Linked DNA regions of Homo sapiens: regions 1, 2, 3 and 5 are each linked to region 4. Evidence: promoter capture Hi-C in 16 types of primary human blood cells and fetal thymus (Javierre and others, 2016). All regions are on one chromosome and are shown on one strand. Each heading gives the region's core, a stretch centred on a gene start or on the middle of the fragment in contact. The rest is flanking DNA. Distances are from core to core; before and after follow the strand shown. Region 1 holds the start of KLRC4 (killer cell lectin like receptor C4). Region 2 holds the start of KLRK1 (killer cell lectin like receptor K1). Region 3 has its middle 6.2 kb from the start of LINC02617. Region 4 holds the start of STYK1 (serine/threonine/tyrosine kinase 1). Region 5 holds the start of KLRK1-AS1 (KLRK1 antisense RNA 1).

Region 1 (2,700 bases), core at 126-2,625, 260 kb after region 4:
TTATTGCCTGTGGAGAATTAGTCAAGCACATGCATACATCATAATAGGTTTGTTAATCAATATAATTTAGAGTGAAACCGATAAATATCACGACAATGAAGAATTAATTTGAAATTTTATAATCATTATAGATGTAATAATACTTTATATTTAGCCCAGACTTTAAAAATGCATTTTTAATGGATACATCAAATTGTGAATGTCAAACATAATTTCTCATACACATACTTATATTTAATTGAAGCAGATTTTATTTTTTTAAGAATGTAATAATGAAGTAGTTTCCATAAAATGCAAATCTAAACTTAATTATAAATAATAGGACGACCTAAAAAAAATTGAGCCAAACAAACATTGCAAAAAAGATGTACTACACTGACATGAGACTCCTACCTCATTAGTTATTTTACACACTCAGTATGAATTAGAAATAATAAAATGGCAATTGTGTTAAAAATAATTAAAATATCTAATATGTATTGAGGACTAATGTGTGCCAGGTTGTATGTTAAGGGTTTTATATACATTATACTTCATAAATTATTTTCCCCAATCTAGATTAGTAAACTGGTGTTGTAGACACCAAGTAACTTTGTAAAGGTCATGCATTATGAGTTTCAAAGCTGTAATTAATTTTAGGTCTCACTGGCTACAGAGCTCATTGACTAGATTATTAAATTATATTTTCTGATTTATTACAATTACTTACACAACCAAAGTGACCCTCGCTGCCTTTTAAAACAACCACAGGGTCTTTCTGAAAGTTTGAACTTAAAGTGTTCTTTCATAGATGGTCCAAACTTATATTTATCATTTTCAGTTTTCCTATTTTAGTCATTAAATCAATTACCAATCAATTCTGTAAAATAAAGAGTTAAATCTTTTTCAGTAGTATTTAGTTTATGCATAAGTTAATGTAATGTTTTACAAGGTATAAAATATTTCTTTAAAATTTTAACAATTTTTCTGTTTTCCTCAATCATTCAGAATAAAAAACATTTGCCAAGACCTCATGCCCTTTTAGTAAACGAATGTAAGTCACTAACTTAATGTATTTTAGTATTAAAAGTTGTTCTATATGCCAACAAATTATTCCTCCATCTTTAGCGCTCAATCCTTACATTAATGAATTTTAAAATTGTCATACAATTAGTGCATTTTATTTTCAAATTTCAATTTTAGTTTTTTACACAGGTATTCTATTGGTGATAAAATATTTCTGTAGAATCTGATTTTAAATTAATAAAGATATTTATATTCAGTTACTTCTTAGTTTTCACAAATGTATTGTTTTTTATTGTTCCCATTAATAATATTATGTCAAATATAGAAGGCCTTTTAAAAAGTGACCTATTGTTTAAAGAGATTTCAGTTTAAAACTTTAGGAAATTAGTACCAGACTTTTATATTGGTCAACAGCAAAATGAACATTACTACTCAGCCTCCAACACATGCAGTTTGCCTATACCAGGGATCCTGTCAAAATATACACCACTTATAGCTTCTTAAGTGCAGTTATCATAGAGCACAGTCCCTGACATCACACAGCTGCAGAGATGAATAAACAAAGAGGAACCTACTCAGAAGTGAGTCTGGCCCAGGACCCAAAGAGGCAGCAAAGGAAACTTAAGGGCAATAAAATCTCCATTTCAGGAACCAAACAGGAAATATTCCAAGTAGAATTAAACCTTCAAAATGCTTCTTCGGATCATCAAGGGAATGACAAGACATATCACTGCAAAGGTAAAACATTAAATAGATCTTCAATATTATTGTTCTAGGATGTGCAGTTGAATGCAGAAAGGTGGGGAAAGATTAGGGAATATTTTGCACTTGTGAGAATCAGAGGTCAAAGTCAGGATCTAATATTCTAATATGAAATCTGAAGCCTGATTTTATTCAGGCATTGTTCAATTGTAATTTGTGATTAACAACTCATGGAGCATTATATTTACTGATAATGAAATGGTATATTCTGAGAGAAAGATTACTAGAGTAGATGTAGATTTAGAGGACAGAGTTTATCATTATGTTTTCCTGTGCACGTGAGTTCTCTTGTACGTAAACCTTCTCATCAACTCTCTATCTCCCCTCTCTCAGTGCCTCTTTCTCTCCCTGCAGGTTTACTGCCACCTCCAGAGAAGCTCACTGCTGAGGTCCTAGGAATCATTTGCATTGTCCTGATGGCCACTGTGTTAAAAACAATAGTTCTTATTCCTTGTAAGCATATTCTTGAAAGATTATAAGGGAACTTTTCACTATAATGATTGGAAGCGCCTTGAAACATTTCATAATAATGAGGATTAGAATTCTCTGTTTAATGTATATCTCTGAACCCCAAGATAATATGCTGCTTCTGAACTTTTCAAATTTATAAATAACAGAATAATTGTAGAAAACATTTATTTTTTTGTGTGTACTAAATATATATGTATATATGATACACACACAGAGAGATGTATTCTGATTTCATGACTCAAAGACATGTTTTAAGAGAAAAAATATTTAGAAAAACAAATTAATTTTTGAAAGTGGTTAGATCAAATACTATAAGAGATGGTGAAGTTTTATGCTAATGGCTTTAAAAATATTTGTTTTAAAGATCTCATTATTTTTATAGAAAAGTCATTTTTATTTCAGATTGTTCCAATTTAAAATAATTTTAAATTTTGTATTTCAAAGTAAGCAACTGAATTTATT
Region 2 (2,700 bases), core at 74-2,573, 280 kb after region 4:
CAGGAGGATCACCTGAGGTCAGGAGTTCGAGACCAGCCTGACTAACATGGTGAAACCTCGTCTCTACTAGAAATACAAAAATTAGCCAGGTGTGGTGGCACATGCCTGTAATCCCAGTTATTCTGGAGGCTGAGACAGGAGAATTGCTTGAACCCAGGTGGCGGAGGTTGCAGTGAGCCGAGATCGCCCCGTTGCACTCCAGCCTGGACAACAAGAGTGAAACTCCATCTCTTAAAAAAAAAAAAAAAAAAAGTAATTAATTTCCATGTGGGCAAAAACTTTCTTTTGGATTGTTTACTTTGACATTCTCAAGATCTAGAAAAGTGCATAGCAAATAGCATTCGCTAAAGAAAAAAAATGTTGAATAAATTTATTGTCCAACTTTAACACATCACCACATGAAAGCTGTTTTCCTTCCTTATATTTCAGAGTTTTAAGATTAATAGCTTTGGTTTTTGTTAAAATGTTATAATGTGTTCATCTTATATTACTTTATATGATGTCTTATGTTAGTATTTTAAATTAATAAACATAAAATATATATTTAGCTTATCTTGTTCATTGGTATCAATTCATATATTATTCTTATGTATACTGGGGTATATATTTAAGTTTCTAATTCTCCTGCATATGATGTAGATATGACAGAGATGCAATTTCATGTTTTTTATATTAAAATTTAAAAATTCCCAGGACTAATTTTTTGTAACTTAAAGGCCAGTGTGATAGTAACCCAGGACAAATTATTGAATAGGAGCTAATTTCCCACTTTATCTGCAATGTTACCTTATATTTTTTAATCTATGCACATGACTTTTTCTTGTCTGTATTTTTACCCTTCTCAATTTGTCTATCTATGCCCCACATGCCACTTTGCCTTTATTAATACGGTTTTAACATAGGTCTTACTATCTAGTAAAACAAGGCTCCCACATTTTCTTCATCTTCAATTGTGACTTTCCTAGTCTTGACTTTTGTAATTTAATGTACATGTAGAATTCTGCTTTGTAAGTTCTACAACAAAACCTGAGGTATTAACTGGAATTGAATTGAATCTCTAAAATATTTAGGATTAAATGGCATCATTTAAATTCATCATTTTCAAATCCTAAAATGTTATTTAAAATAATGGCAAAACTACAATTACTTTTGCACCAACCTAACATTTATCCAACAATGGGTGGTCTTAACTCTTTTACCAAATTAACAATATTTTTGTAGTGATAAGGCGGAAGTACTGTGGTTTATGTTTTTCCACAGGAAGATGAGATTATAATATTTGTCACATCTTTCTCAAAGATAGAAATTCACTAAGTATCTCCACTTTCAATTCTAGATCAGGAACTGAGGACATATCTAAATTTTCTAGTTTTATAGAAGGCTTTTATCCACAAGAATCAAGATCTTCCCTCTCTGAGCAGGTGTGTGTATGTGTGTATGTGTGTGTGTTTATTATTCAAGATATGAGAAATTATATTTCAACCTCAAAAAAATAAAAATATTTACACTATAAGGTAATTCTAATTGTTTCTTAGATGCTTGAATAGAACTCCTGAGGATACGGAATGCTTATCATTTCTGATGTATATTCTATCACTGTATCTGATGATAGGTAATTAGGATATACTTATTGAAGAATCAGAAGTTGTAATATTACTATAAGAAGAAGCCTTGTCTCTAAGCAAAACTAGAAAAATGAATCTTTACATTTAGGATGAGAAGAATTGAGATTCAATTTAAATTGTCAAATTTTTGAGTTTTCTGATGCTGTAGGGGGCACTTACCTTTGATACACATCTTTACATGCAAGGTGAAACAAGTTATATCTGTGCTTTCCAACTATCATAATCAAATATGAAATAGCTTTTATTTTTGAAATCTAAGCACTATGCTTATTTATTAAATGGTTTTTTCTGGAAGCTCTGCTGTGCATTGCTAAGATGTTACTATATAAACATGTGAGATTAGTTTTGTTAATGATGATGGTGATGATAATTTGTTGATGATGATGATATGGGCACGTTGGATTAAAATGCACTAGAAAAGGACATTCAACAAAAGTGCATATAACTTACCTGAGTTTAGCTTGCAGAAAGAAAACTAAATTATTGCCAGATAAAATAAACAACTGGAAACACTTGATCTTAGCTAAAAGGCCAAGAAGCAATAAACGACTATAAACAGAAAACTGGGTGTGTTGTTATCTAATATCAGTAAAGTAAAATATTGGTATTAAATATCTCAATGTAGGTGAATTAATAGGTTCATTATATTGTTATGACATTTTGAAGTAATTGGCGATTATTTTACAACCAAGAGAAATGTATAAAATTAATTTTGCCTGGCTTTATGTGAATTGTCATTTCTATTCTTTTCTTAAAGGCATGCACAGGGGAAAAGTTTCTGCATTTTACTTTTCTATTCAAAATATTTTATCTCACCACGGGAAAGAGAACAAAAAACAAATGCCCAGTTTTATTTTATTCAGGAATCCTTTGTGCATTGAAGACTTTAGATTCCTCTCTGCGGTAGACGTGCACTTATAAGTATTTGATGGGGTGGATTCGTGGTCGGAGGTCTCGACACAGCTGGGGTATGTTTTTACCACATAAGTGTGTAGTTTTGTTTTTATACAATTTTAAGATACCAAGAATTTCATACAAGCATATAAGGCATAGGCAAGCAATTTACTCTGATTCT
Region 3 (2,700 bases), core at 11-2,510, 330 kb after region 4:
ACTTCAAACTATACTACAAGGCTACAGTAACCAAAACAGCATGGTACTGGTACCAAAACAGAGATATAGATCAATGGAACAGAACAGAGCCCTCAGAAATAACACCACATATCTACAACTATCTGATCTTTGACAAACCTGAGAAAAACAAGCAATGGGGAAAGGATTCCCTATTTAATAAATGGTGCTGGGAAAAGTGGCTAGCCATATGTAGAAAGCTGAAACTGGATCCCTTCCTTACACCTTATACAGAAATCAATTCAAGACGGATTAAAGACTTAAACGTTAGACCTAAAGCCATAAAAACCCTAGTAGAAAACCTAGGCATTACCATTCAGGACATAGGCATGGGCAAGGACTTCATGTCTAAAACACCAAAAGCAATGGCAACAAAAGCCAAAATTGACAAATGGGATCTAATTAAACTCAAGAGCTTCTGCACAGCAAAAGAAACTACCATCAGAGTGAACAGGCAACCTACAAAATGGGAGAAAATTTTCACAACCTGCTCATCTGACAAAGGGCTAATATCCAGAATCTACAATGAACTCAAACAAATTTACAAGAAAAAAACAACCCCATCAAAAAGTGGGCAAAGGACATGAACAGACACTTCTCAAAAGAAGACATTTATGCAGCCAAAAAACATATGAAAAAATGCTCACCATCACTGGCCATCAGAGAAATGCAAGTCAAAACCACAATGAGATACCATCTCACACCAGTTAGAATGGCAATCATTAAAAAGTCAGGAAACAACAGGTGCTGGAGAGGATGTGGAGAAATAGGAACACTTTTACACTGTTGGTGGGACTGTAAACTAGTTCAACCATTGTGGAAGTCAGTGTGGCAATGCCTCAGGGATCTAGAACTGGAAATACCATTTGACCCAGCCATCCCATTACTGGGTATATATCCAAAGGACTATAAATCATGCTGCTATAAAGACACATGCACACGTATGTTTATTGCAGCACTATTCACAATAGCAAAGACTTGGAACCAACCCAAATGTCCAACAATGATAGACTGGATTAAGAAAATGTGGCACATATACACCATGGAATACTATGCAGCCATAAAAAATGATGAGTTCATGTCCTTTGTAGGGACATGGATGAAATTGGAAATCATCATTCTCAGTAAACTATCGCAAGAACAAAAAACCAAACACTGCATATTCTCACTCATAGGTGGGAATTGAACAATGAGAACACATGGACACAGGAAGGGGAACATCACACTCTGGGGACTGTTGTGTGGTGCGGGGAGTGGGGAGGGATAGCATTGGGAGATATACCTAATGCTAGGTGATGAGTTAGTGGGTGCAGCGCACCAGCATGTCACGTGTACACATATGTAACTAACCTGCACATTGTGCACATGTACCCTAAAATTTAAAGTATAATAATAATAATAATAATAATAATAGTAATAGTAATAAAAACTAAGAAAAAAAAATAAAAAATAAAAAATAAAAAATGTACAAAAAAAAGAAATACTATACAGCCTTTAAAAAGAAGGAACTTCTGTCATTCGTGACAACATAGAAACATGTGGAGGACATTATGCTAACTAAAAGAACCCAGGCACATAAGGAAAAATACTGCATGATCTCATTTATATTTGGAATCTAAAAAAGTTGAGCTCATGGAAGCAGCAAGAATAATGGTGGTTATCAGAGGCTGAAGGTACAGGGGGGTAATGAAGAAAAGGGAGACATTGGTCAGAGGGTACAAAGTGTTAGTTAGACAGAAGGAATAAGTTTTAGTAATCTATTCCATAGCATAGTGATGATAACTAATAATAATATATTGTATATTTTGAAATTGCTAAAAAAGTAAATTTTAAATATTTTATCACAAAAAATAAGTAGGTGAGTTGATGGCTATGTTAATGACTTTGATTTAATCCTTCTACAATGTATGCATATATCAATATATCACATTTTACGCCATAAATGCATAAAATTATTTGTCAGTAAAACTTTTAAAATAACAAAATAAAAAATAATAAAATGTGAATAGACTCAGAAGGCTATCAATAAGCCAAACTTTTGTTCACTGAACATCCAGAAGGAAAGAAAAAAAGATATCAGTGCATGAGCAGCTAAAACTCTGAGAGAAACATATTTTCCTTCTCAGACAAATCAGGAAAAAGGATTTCTGGAGCTGAGAAAATATGGGAAATTTCAGAGAGGACAAAGTTGGAGAAGAGGATAGCTTAATTTTGTATATGAGTTGACACAAGTACAGGGTTCACCTATTAATTACACAAGTATAGTACAAAGCCAAGATAGCGTGGCAAAGGATTTGGGAACTGAACTATGATTTGTACCACTATCTAAGTCCCACATTCATGACTGAGTGACTCATGAGCAGAGTGGACCCTGAGCGGCATAACGAAGGTTTTGAAACTGAACCTATATGGGACAATAATCCAAAGAAAGCAAAAGACACAAAGAAATTTGGGGCATGATGGACAAGTTTATTATCTTAACGGTCATTTCATAAATACAACACATATGTCGAAACACATGTACCTTTAAACATGTGCCCTTTAGGGTATGTATCAATTATACCTCAATAAAGCTGAAAAAAAAAAAAGAGCAAACGCTTTCAATTCACCAGCCACAAAATATTAGAAAATGAAAGTAGATAAATAAGACCATATTCTATAACACCATAAACTATTAAATAC
Region 4 (2,700 bases), core at 180-2,679:
AGGTAGAGTAGAAAATTACATAATATGAAGTTCCAATCAGTTCATTTGGATTTGATGTATCACTTATGACATAAAGAATCTAAAGAACAACTAACTGATGAGATGTCTTCCTTTCCCCTTTTGAGGTAAAATTCACATAACATAAAATCAACCATTAGCCATTTAAAAATGAACAGTTCAGTGGCATTAAGTACAATTCATCCTGTTTTTAAAAAGCCCTGAAGGAAGTGAAAATGCCAATAGAGAAAGCTCTAGAGAACTGACATACCTCAATCTCTAAATATGCCACATTACATTGACTCAAGTTCTTTTTGCTCTAATGACTGTCAGTTTGTGTTTGGTATGCGTTCAATGCTGAATAAATTGGTCACATATTCAAGTTACCTATGACTCTTATTTCTTTAATTGAATTTGTATTAGGTGTTAATATCTAACAGAATTCCTTCAGCTATCTATTGTCTTAAGTATTTTCTATTATTTTAGTTTCCATGTGGACGGGTAACATAACTACCTTGTTCACTGTTTCCCCAGAGGAGAACCCAGGACATAATGGGATATATGTGTGTGTGTGTGTGTGTGTGTGTGTGTGCGCGCGCGCGCGCGCGCGGGCTCTAAATGAATGATCTATTACGTAATCTTGGGGTTTTAATTCTCATTAATTCCTTATAGGTTCCCCCACGTCTCCGCAGTGGTCAGTACTTTTTTTTTTCTTTTTTTTTTTTTTTTTTCTGAGACGGAGTCTTGCTCTGTCGCCCAAGCTGCAATGCAGTGGCACAATCTCGGCTCTATGCGATCTCTGCCTCCTGGGTTCAAGAGATTCTCCTGCTTCAGCCTCCTGAGTAGCTGGGATTATAGGCGCCCGCCATCACGCCTAATTTTTGTATTTTTAGTAGAGACGGGGTTTCGCCACGTTGGCCAGGCTGGTCTCGAACTGCTGACCTCAGGTGATCCACCCGCCTTGGCCTCTCAAAGTTCTGGGATTACAGGCGTAAGCCACCACTCCCGTCCCTTCAGTATTATCTTGTAACACCCCGGCAAAGCCTTCAGGTGGAGAATGTTCCTGGCGCGGAATAATCCACCTGAATGTGAATCCTGACCATTTTTAGGCGCCAATGGAGGCCGCTGCTACGGGGCCGGCCGTGAGGTGGCGCTGTTGCCCTGTATCGTGACTCCGTTTTCACCTGGACTGGAGTCACCGTGATACCTGACATCTAGCAATCACTAGAGTAGGAAATGAGTATAGATCAGCAACAAGTCCAGCCTTTACAGTTGCAGCAGAGGTTTCCTGTGGCTCGAGTGTGGCGAGTCCCGGAAACCTCGGAGCCCGCAGACTTCCCTTCGCGGGAGCCCGCCCGAACTCCATCCTTTGCCGGCAGCCACGCCCCGCAGTGGGAAGGAGGGACTGAAAAGCATTTCCTTGAGGCTGGCACACCTTGCCCTACCCAACCCTGTCATTATTTCCCCTCCGACTGGGCCGGTGCCATCGGAAACCGGAGTGACCAGAGGAGGGACACGGTAGTGAACGGGGTATGGGGGGCGGGCGCGGCGGGGAGGGTAAAGAAGGTGGGAAGGGAATGGCAGCGAGGCAGCTGGGGGAGGACTTTGCAGTTGGGGAGGGAGAAAAAGGGAAGAGGCTGGGAGCGGAACGGGTGTTTATGTGAACAAACAGAAATCACCAAGTGAATTAACCTGTGTTTCTTCGGAACCAGCATCTTGTGGGGTTTGGCTTCTGTGTTTCTATATGATAAGGGAGTAAACCTGACTCAGCAGATTTGGTGCAGAGAGAAACATGAGAAAACCCAGGAATGGGGGACCTCTGTTTATTCCTGGAGAGGGGGCCATCAGGAGAGGGGGAAGGGAAAGAATGAGGTTACAGGAATTACTTGTCAGAGGACTGCATAGCCTTTCAGACCATGGAATCGTTGCTTTCAGCTTCGGCTTCCTCATCTGCAAAGCATAAATACGGTAATTACTTTCCAGGGTTGTTGCGATATTTAAATGAGATATCAATAACCATGCTTTAAAAGTGTACAGCCTGATGTGCTATCCCTTGTTGACTGAATCTCTGTTTTCTTTCCTTCTTTTTATTTGGGGTGGGGAGTGGGGGAGGGAGTCTTGCTCTGTCACTCAGGCTGGAGTGCAATGGCGCGATCTCGGTTCACTGCAACCTCCGCCTCCCAGGTTCAAGCGATTCTCCTGCCTCAGCCTCCCAAGTAGCTGGGATTACAGGCTCCCACCACCACGGCCGGCTATTTATTTTTTTGTATTTTTAGTAGAGACGGGGTTTCACCATTTTAGCCTCTGTTTTCTTTTCAATGTCTTTTTTCCTCTTTCATTTTTCTCTATCAACCCTTCATCCCCCCTTTCTTTCTTTCATTTATGCGATTGTTGCTTCCTTCTGTAATGGGTCCTCTCCACATTGGAGTTTCTTATACCTATGAGACCACACTTCCTTCCCACTCGGTGGGAAGTAGTGGCAATAAAGGAGTCGAGTTACTGTAATGTGCAGCACAGCTCAACTGAAATACACCTGGAAACAGAACTCTGTGCTGTCTACCTGGTTTTTCCCCCTCAATGCACCGGAATCTCCACTGACAGCTAGCTAGGGGGCAGCTAGGTCTTTCAATGAGACATCATGAAGTATTTGCTTCAATGAAAATCATATACTTTTTCGTTCAGTGCCTCCATTACTGTGTGAGT
Region 5 (2,700 bases), core at 15-2,514, 310 kb after region 4:
TGCCTTGGGCCTATACTCCTTACCACAGTTCCTGAAGTGCTGGTATCGTCCTGCAGCCCCATCCTCGGTTCCATTGCGCTGCCAGGCAGGGTGCTGGGACGTGGGGAGAGCTGGTCTATATATCCGGGTGAAGCTCAGCTGTGGCACACCTTGGATGCCGGGTCTCTCCTGGCCCCGGGGACCTAGTATCGCAGGCAAAGGGGACAGTAAATCTGTCATCTCCAATCCTGATGAGCCCCCAGAAATGTATCGGGATATATAAGGAATCAGAGAGACCAAGGGATTGAGGAGGATATTTATTATTTAGGTGCACTGGTCCACTTGGATTAACATCCAAAGGACTGAGCCCCAAACAAAGAGTCAAGTTACCTTTTAAGCATTTCGTGGGTGGGGGAAGATTTGTGCAGGGGGAAGCGTATAACAGAAGCAAGAAACAAAGACAGTTATTCAATTGAGACATACATGACATCATTTCTTTTCAAGGAAAAACATGTTTTATGACTTGAGTTTATCTGTCTAGTGACCTTGCAGCTGCACAGCTAGAGAAATAGGGTCTTCATAATGCCTGGGAAAGGGAGAGATAAGGCTCACTAGCCACAGAAAACAGGCAGTTAATTTTTAAAGGACTCCGGCTCTTTCTCTTCCTCAGGGGGGAATTGGGTTTTCTTATATACAACTGAGTTTTTGCTTACACATTCTGTAATTTATTTTAATTCCTGTTCCATGCCAGCCACCTATGCTGCTGTTTTCCCCCTCCTTCCCCTTTCCCTAGGGAAGGGACTGGTGGCAGTGGGGCTATTCTTTCTTCCCCCAAGAAGAAAGGAAAGGGGGGTTCTGAATATTTTTCTTACTACTGGGAGTTTGTGTGAGGTTCAACGCCCCCCTCCCATGGGGATTCCTCACCTCTTTCTGAGGTTCAACCCGCCTCATGGGGATTTCTCACCTCTTTCTGAGGTTCAACACCCCTTCTATGGGGATTTCTCACCTATTTTTAACCTCCAAGACATCCCGACTAAGGAATAATCTACTGACCCTGCAGTTTCTCTCTCCTTGGTACGTCCTAACTAAGGAATGCTTTACCGTCCTGTGGCTTTTTTTTTTTTTTTTTTTTTAGTCCCGATCACCAAGGAAATACTTTATTGGCTCCCACAGCTTCTTCTTTCTTGGCCTGTGCACAAAGTTGTCGCCACAGTATGTGAGGATCCTTTAAGCTAGGTTGCTGGCCAGTTTCTTTTTTTTTTTTTTCTCTCTGTGTTGCTGAGAGTCTGGGTTTATTTGTCTCAATTTGTCATTCCTGAGGGCCCCTTCAATGAGGTAGGGGAGTGCACTCCCTCATGAGAGAGGACTGGAGACCACCCCTGGAGGAGAATGTATCCCCATACAGACTGCCACCAAATTGTTTGAAATGCTTGTTCCCCAGTGCCATAAAAAAATAGCACTTGAACATAGATTTATTTAGTGTGGCCATTTTTTTTTTTTACTTCCTGCAGAAAGGGTATACTCATCAGCAGTTTTGCCACGAGTGTACACCAAACAAAGGAGACAGCATCATTTATAACCTGCCGCATCCACCCTACTGCTGTATCCAGTTTCCATTGACTGGAACAGGACCTCACATTCTGTATTTGTCCCGACTGGCTAGCAATTTAGAACTTTTTAAAAGAGGCAAAGGTAGAGGAGAACAAAGGAAGGAGGAAGTAACTTGTGGAATGCTGAGAAAGGTAAAAACACTTTTAAATAAGGAAGAGGAACAGGCTATGACCTAATGCTTGCTTGGACCAGTATAAGCATGCCAGGGCAAATATTTAGGAGCACAGGTCTTTGAATAAATTTTGCTTCTAAGAGAAGTTACTATTTATTCCTAATTAGTTAGGGAGGAAAGTCTTTGAAGAGCAACCTCTACTTTACTTTTTACAGAATAAATGCAGGCAAAAAGAACATAAACTTTGCCATGGGCAGAATGTTATGGACAGAATGTTTCTGTTTCCCTGAAATTCATATTTGAAATCCTAACTCCCAATGGTATAGTATTAGGAGGTGCCTTTGGGAGGTAATTTAGGTGTGAAAGTTGATTATAAAAATTGAGTAATTCTTTTCATAACTAAATAAAACAGAGTGGAGAATCCAGTGGGAAAACATTCTGGGTACAAAGCATTGCTCCAAGAATGTAATTATCTGCAAGCCTGGCTGCTGAAACTGCCTGTTGTAACCAGAAACCAGTTTTATCTGTAGCTTCTGAAGTAGCTTACTGCAACTCTAGAACTAATGTTTGCTCACACTGTTGTCACGCAAAAATCGGAGCTTGCCAGCTCACCAAATCCTTACAAATATCAATGAACTTTCTCAAAAAGCAATATGTAAAACCTCTAACCTTCTCTTTGCTCTTTGGAGATACCGAAGACCACGTGTATGCCCTGAACTGCAATTCTTTCTTCCCAAATAAAACACTACATTTAGAGATTTGTGTCTGCATTTTTATTTTTACTTTGACATACTATTATAGGAGTTACTAAGAAATTCTTTTAGGCAGATAGGGAAAAAAAGGGGTCCTTGGGCAATTTTTGTTTCTTTTAAGGCAGCTCCAGAAACATTTCTTGTCTAGCAGGAAAGCGCTGGCTCTTAGAGCTGCCTGGCAAGCTTTGATGTGCGAATGCCAGCAATTAGAAACTGGGTCTACCCAATCATGGCAATTCCTGCCCT

What was found. The method cuts DNA at HindIII sites, captures the fragments that hold promoters and counts their contacts. A CHiCAGO score of 5 or more calls a contact.
Region 1: a contact is called between the fragment with the promoter of KLRC4 here and the fragment with the promoter of STYK1 in region 4, in 2 of 17 cell types (naive CD8 T cells and total CD8 T cells). The highest score is 10.1, in naive CD8 T cells.
Region 2: a contact is called between the fragment with the promoter of KLRK1 here and the fragment with the promoter of STYK1 in region 4, in 2 of 17 cell types (naive CD8 T cells and total CD8 T cells). The highest score is 15.9, in naive CD8 T cells.
Region 3: a fragment that was not itself captured here is called in contact with the fragment with the promoter of STYK1 in region 4 in 1 of 17 cell types (naive CD8 T cells); the score reaches 5.5 in naive CD8 T cells.
Region 5: a fragment that was not itself captured here is called in contact with the fragment with the promoter of STYK1 in region 4 in 2 of 17 cell types (total CD8 T cells and naive CD8 T cells); the score reaches 8.8 in total CD8 T cells.

What each region holds. Positions count from the first base shown.
Region 1 is chr12:10,408,432-10,411,131 of GRCh38, reverse strand. KLRC4 (killer cell lectin like receptor C4) reads left to right here and starts at 1,375. Exons shown (of 4, transcript NM_013431.2): 1 at 1,375-1,743; 2 at 2,122-2,220. The coding sequence starts at 1,557. It overlaps KLRC4-KLRK1 (KLRC4-KLRK1 readthrough), which reads left to right and starts at 986. Exons shown (of 13, transcript NM_001199805.1): 1 at 986-1,033; 2 at 2,122-2,220. The HindIII fragment of the contact is 5,444 bases long and covers 1-2,700 here.
Region 2 is chr12:10,388,664-10,391,363 of GRCh38, reverse strand. It overlaps KLRK1 (killer cell lectin like receptor K1), which reads left to right and starts at 1,323. Exons shown (of 8, transcript NM_007360.4): 1 at 1,323-1,421; 2 at 2,489-2,593. The coding sequence starts at 2,554. It overlaps KLRC4-KLRK1 (KLRC4-KLRK1 readthrough), which reads left to right. Exons shown (of 13, transcript NM_001199805.1): 7 at 2,489-2,593. The coding sequence starts at 2,554. The region is part of intron 3 of KLRK1-AS1 (KLRK1 antisense RNA 1); the gene reads right to left. The HindIII fragment of the contact is 4,388 bases long and covers 1-2,700 here.
Region 3 is chr12:10,343,163-10,345,862 of GRCh38, reverse strand. No RefSeq gene overlaps it. Among named protein-coding and RNA genes, the nearest start is that of LINC02617, 6.2 kb to the right of the region's middle. The HindIII fragment of the contact is 4,413 bases long and covers 1-2,700 here.
Region 4 is chr12:10,672,781-10,675,480 of GRCh38, reverse strand. STYK1 (serine/threonine/tyrosine kinase 1) reads left to right here and starts at 1,429. Exons shown (of 11, transcript NM_018423.3): 1 at 1,429-1,515. The HindIII fragment of the contact is 4,755 bases long and covers 1-2,700 here.
Region 5 is chr12:10,361,357-10,364,056 of GRCh38, reverse strand. KLRK1-AS1 (KLRK1 antisense RNA 1) reads right to left here and starts at 288. Exons shown (of 4, transcript NR_120430.1): 1 at 24-288. RefSeq lists an enhancer at 2,590-2,700. The HindIII fragment of the contact is 2,751 bases long and covers 1-2,639 here.